Linked DNA regions of Homo sapiens: region 1 is linked to region 2. The links are contacts of gene promoters, found by promoter capture Hi-C in blood cells and fetal thymus (Javierre and others, 2016). All regions are on one chromosome and are shown on one strand. Each heading gives the region's core, a stretch centred on a gene start or on the middle of the fragment in contact. The rest is flanking DNA. Distances are from core to core; before and after follow the strand shown.

What was found. The method cuts DNA at HindIII sites, captures the fragments that hold promoters and counts their contacts. A CHiCAGO score of 5 or more calls a contact.
Region 1: a contact is called between a fragment that was not itself captured here and the fragment with the promoter of FANCI in region 2, in 1 of 17 cell types (erythroblasts). The highest score is 5.5, in erythroblasts.

Annotation. Positions count from the first base shown.
Region 1 is chr15:89,070,919-89,073,766 of GRCh38, reverse strand. All of the region lies in intron 2 of CARMAL (coronary artery disease region linked MFGE8 regulatory lncRNA), which reads right to left. It also overlaps a transcript of ABHD2 not described here. Among named protein-coding and RNA genes, the nearest start is that of ABHD2, 16 kb to the left of the region's middle. The HindIII fragment of the contact is 876 bases long and covers 975-1,850 here.
Region 2 is chr15:89,242,591-89,245,290 of GRCh38, reverse strand. FANCI (FA complementation group I) reads right to left here and starts at 1,312. Exons shown (of 38, transcript NM_001113378.2): 1 at 1,258-1,312. RefSeq lists an enhancer at 730-1,109. The HindIII fragment of the contact is 10,185 bases long and covers 1-2,700 here.

The sequences.
Region 1 (2,848 bases), core at 163-2,662, 170 kb after region 2:
GATCGATATCATGATATTAGAAATGCAGAACCTCAGGTCCCCCAAGACCTGCTGAATCAGAATTTGTGTTTGGCAAGATCCCGAGATGCTTCGCATGGTTAGAGTTTGAGAAGTAGTGCGTGAGGCCACTAGTTTCCAAACCTGGCCAATGATCAGAATTAACACACTTTTTAAAAGAAAACTACAGATTCCCTGTAATCCCAGCACTTTGGGAGGCCGAGGAGGGTGGATCACCTGAGGTCAGGAGTTCGAGACCAGCCTGGCCAACATTGTGACATTCTGTCTCTACTAAAAATACAAAAAAATTACCAGGCATGGTCGTGGGCACCTGTAATCCTAGCTACTTGGGAGGCTGAGGCAGGAGAATCGCTTGAACCTAGGAGGCGGAAGTTGCAGTGAGCCAAGATCGTACCACTGCACTCCAGCCTGGGCAACAGAGCAAGACTGTCTCAAAAACTACAGATTCCCCAGATATTCCACACAAGTTTCTAGCTAATCAGGTCTGAGCTCACACCTAGGTCCCTTTTTTAAAGCTCCCCATAAATCTGATGATAGATTAAGTTTAGCATTGCTCCACAATGCTGCTCTCTGTAGAAGTGGGAATTTTCTGAGTATATTCTTTGTCCCAGGCCCCTCAAAAAGTGCTTTCCTCACAACTAGGCTTGCTAGATTTAGCAAATGAAAATACAGAATGCCTAGTTAAATTTGAATTTCAGATAAAGAGCAAATACTTTTTTAGTATAAGTATGTCTCAAATATTGTGTGGGCTATACTTATAAAATTATTTTAAGTAGTGAAAACAGGTTTAGCAAACTTACTAGTTAAAAATTAAATTTTATTAATATGATCAATTTAAATTTAGGAAAAGTTTCTAAAATTATGTATTGTTTATCTGAATTTCAAATTTAGCTGAGCATTTTGTATTTTACTTGGCAGCTCTACTCACAAAAGTACTGAAGTTCCAAGGAGAAGCTTGGCATAACCATATTGAGGGCAAGAAGAGGCAGAACTTGTCAGACATCAATAAGAAATGGATGAATGGGTGAATACCAAAGATATCATGTAGAGCTGCCTCAGTCAGCTTAGGCTAAGTTATCCTGCAGTAACAAATGACCTTCTCAACTCAGTGGCTAAATAAACCCCAAACTTAACTTTCCCTTCCCTCCCCTCCCCTCTCCTTTTCTTCCCTCCCCTTCCCCTTCCTCTCCCCCTCCTGCTCATCCTTCCCCTTCCCCTCCCCCTCCTGCTCATCCTTCCCCTTCCCCTTCTCCTTCCCCTCCTTTCCTCTTTTGAGACCGAGTCTTGCTCTGTCACCCAGGCTGGAGAGCAGTGGCACAATCTCAGCTAACTGCAACTTCTGCCTCCTGGGTTCAAGTGATTCTTGTGCCTCAGACTCCCGAGTAGCTGGGACTACAGGCCCCCACCACCATGCCTGGCTAATTTTTGTATTTTTAGTAGAGACAGGGTTTCGCCATGTTGGTCAGGCTGGTCTCAAAATCCTGACCTCAAGTGATGCACCTGCCTCGGTCTCCCAGAGTTCTGGGATTACAGGCATGAGCCACTGCACCTGGCCCAAACATTTGTTTCTTATTTGCATTACATATCCATCGAGGTCAGCTATCTTCCTCCTCATTCTGTGACCAAGGCTCATAGGAGGTTTCTAACGGAGACATTTTTGTTCTCCTCAAAAAGGAAAAAAATAAAAGTGTGACATGACTCTTACAGCTTGGGTGACCAGCTATCCCAGTTTGCCCAGGACTGGGGGTTTCCTGGGACACAACACTTTAGTGTTAAAACCAGAATAGTCTTCGTCTTCAGGTAACTGAGGTTGGTCACCCTACAATAAAGCTTCTACCCGAAAGTGGCATGCACCACTTCCATTGGCCAAAAAAGTCATATGACCAAGTTTGTCATCAGGGAGTGAGCATTATAATCGTCCAGTATTGAGGGACCCTGTAGGATAAACATACCCAATAGCAATAACTTAAGCATACCCTTAGAATGACCCTGTATGGCAGACGCACCTGAGTGTGTGCTCTGAGCTAGGGAATCTGGGAGTGGCCAACCCAGAGATTCCTTCCTGTCTATGAGGAACATGTGAGCTCCACCCCACTCCCTTCCTGTCTGGTGGAATGTGGGCCGTATAAGGGATGGAGGCCATTTGTTTTAGGTTAAATGCAGGTTACCAGGTGAAGGTTGTTAAGGGGAGGGTTTTAAGTGAAAATACTGTATAAACTGCATGCTGTTTGCAAGTGGTTGCGTTTTTCCTGTCCAGTCTGCCACTGCTGGAGACTCTCCCCTGTATGTAAGCCCCAAATAAAACCCTATGTCTTTTTTTTTCTTTTGAGACGGGGTTTTGCTCTTGTTGCCCAGGCTGGAATGCAAAGGCACAATCTTGGCTCACTGCAACCTCCACCTCCCGGGTTCAAGCGGTTCTCCTGCCTCAGCCTCCCAAGTAGCTGGGATTATAGGCGCTTGACACCATGCCCAGCTAATTTTTTATATTTTTAGTAGAGATGGGGTTTCACCATGTTGGCCAGGCTGGTCTTGAACTCCTGACCTCAGGTGATCCACTCGCCTTGGCCTCCCAAAGTGCTGGGATCACAGGTGTGAGCCACCGTGCCCGGCCAAAACCCCATGTCTTATTTGCTACCTTTGGGTCTCTTCTTTGACCTCTTGAACCTGGTGCCTTCCCTACTGAGGTTAATTAGGGTTCAGCAAAACAGACCCATGGAGAGGAGCAATGAGTATTTAATAATGCAGTCTACCACAGAGAGCAAGCGGGGGGCACACTTCAGGAAGGCACACGCCTTCATTAGGAGGAAAATAGAAAAGGAAGGCCCTTCCG
Region 2 (2,700 bases), core at 63-2,562:
AGGCTGAGGCAGGAGAATCACTTGAACTCAGGAGGCGGAGGTTGCAGTGAGCCGAGATCGCGCCACTGCACTCCAGCCTGGCAACAGAGGGAGACTCTGTCTCAAAAAAAAAAGAAAAGAAAAGAAAAGAAAAGCTCAGTATAGGTTGTTAAACGTTCCCCTAGTACATCCTCTCATGGCACCAGTAAACTCTCTTACATACTGTCACCAATTTTTAATATTACATGTGTAATTATCAGATTAACAAATGTTATCTCCCACTAGACTATAAGTCCCCTAAGGACACGGGCCGTAGCTGGTTTTGTTTATCATTGTATCTCCAGCACTTAGCACAGTACCTAGCTCAAACTAGGTAACAAATGTTTGTTGAACAAATTATTGAACCCCTATAATAGGGAAAACACTGAACCCAGCACTTTACATTCATTAACATGACTCCCACAACACCACCTACTAGGTAGGTGTAATATTAGCCCCATTTTAGATGAACAACTTTTGGGATTCAGAGATTAGGGAATTTCCCCCAAGATTAGAAGGCTACCAAGTGGCAGAGAGAGAAGTGAAACCCGAGTCTGTCCAGCTCCGGACTCCAAGATCCCATGCTTTGAACTACCGGATGCAAACAGGACACACCAACCTAAAAAGGTGTCCAGCCAGAAGGGGCAGGCGGCTTCGGAGGGGGATACGTTTAAATCAACCTAGGCACATTTGCTAAAATCATCCTAAAACCAGAGGTAAGACCAGAGGCGGGTGGCTGTGAATTCCCTGAACGCGAAGTAGATTCCTTGCCAAGAGACGCTGGGGAGCATCAGAGATCTGAAGCCAAGATCCGAGAATGGCAGAGCCCCGCCGGCGGGAAACGCCGCGGCCTTCCCTTCCGGGTTCTTCAGTTAACAAGCCGTGAGCGCAAATACAAAAACTATAACACGAAGCAGCTGGTGATGGAGACCGCGACCGGACAACAAATGCAAAGCAAGGTTAAGGGAAATTTCTCAGAAGTAAGAGCTCACCCTCGGCCAAGGGGGAAGAATTTAACAGAAGGGGCTCCGACTGAGGCACACCCCTAGGAGGGAACCGCGAAAGCTGAGGCAGGCGGCGGGAGACAGCGGAGCGCGCCTACTTTCCACGCCAGAGAAAATACCAGAACGCCAAGTCAGGACAGGAGCCTCCTTTCCCCCACAGAACCGCTCCCTCCCAGGGGCCCAGTCCCACAGCCCGAGCACCTCGCGAGCCGCTCTGCAGTCACCTCGGCCTCACCTCCGCCACAAACTTCCAAAAAGCCCGCTCAACCCAACGCCGCCACACTTCCGTTACCCGTAACAACAAGATCCGCCCCCGCGGCTCACTTCCGCCGTCCGGGTACCTGCGGGCGGGGTGTACCATGAAGACTGAAGGGGTGCCGGGAAGCGTGCGGGAGCGTCCCAGCTCACAGTCGGAGGGGGGCGCTGCCTGTCCGAACTCGCGCTAGGGACCGCCGATGAGCACGCGCGGTGGGACCTGAGCGTGCCCAGCGCGGTGTCCCGACAGGTTCAGCTTCCCTCCTGTCCTGTTGAGGGAGTAGTCAGTGCGGGAGGGGACTCACAATTGGTGGCCCCGCAGGTCTTGGCACTGGAAAAGCCTGGAAGGCAGAGGCGGATTTCATACTCCACCTTGTGCCAAGGGACGGTAACCCCTCAGATGTAAGCCCCCTGTGGCTAGGGGTCTTAATGGACTTTTGGGAGTTGTGGTTTTTGTTTGTTCTCTGTTTTGTTTTGTTTTGCGCTCCCCTTGCGTAACCCCAGCGTTTATTGCATAGCCTGGCAAAAGCAGCGAATATTTGTTAAATGAACAACTGACAGTGGGGCGAAGACCGACAGAGGGTGGGCCGAGATTCTATTTTGGGTTGAGGGAGCACCTTGCGCAAAGGGTCTGAGAGCAACGAGCAAGCAACAGAGCCCCTGGCCAGTTCAGAAGGCGAAGGTGCTCGGTGGGAGTGGGAAGGCAGGGGTTTCTAACTCCTTTTCATATTGGGGGCAGTGGGGAACCGCTGAAGGGGAAGGACATGACTGTGTTCGCATTGTAGACTGCTGTCTCGGGCAGGTGAGGACCGCAGAAACTGTTGAAAAGAGATGAGCCAGGTGGGGCGGACCGAAGGCAGGACCCCCCTTAGAAGACTGTAAGTTGTCCCAAAGATAGGTGGTGGTGGCCCAACCTTGGCAATGGGGACAGAAAGGAGTGGACCGCATGTGAAAGAGATTAGGAGGTAGAGATTTAGGAAGCCCAAATATCCGGATTTGAGGGGGTGTGGGCGTTGTTGAGGAATGTTCAGGCTTGAGCGACTGGGGTTGGGGGGCGGGGAGTTAATCCTGCAGTTGACTAACACAGGGAGCACAGGAAAAGGATGATGGGGTGATGATGAGCCCTTCAGAGTTGGACGCACCAAATTTGAGGTGCCTGTGGGATGGCAAGTGAAGGAATGCTAAGATCAGGGAGCATTTCAGTCTGGAACCTGACTCGACTCCCAGCCCTCGGGGGTAGAACGGGTCTACATGGCCAGTTATTGAAGAAACAGAGCTATTGGAGGAGAATGGTTCCTCTCAGCTGTCTAGACCTGCTCCTTGCTTGTGACCCTTCAGCATTTTTTTCCTTCTACATTTCTGTCCCAATACTGAGCTGTGATGTTTAACTAAAACACGGCAGCTTGAGGTAGAAGATGATTCC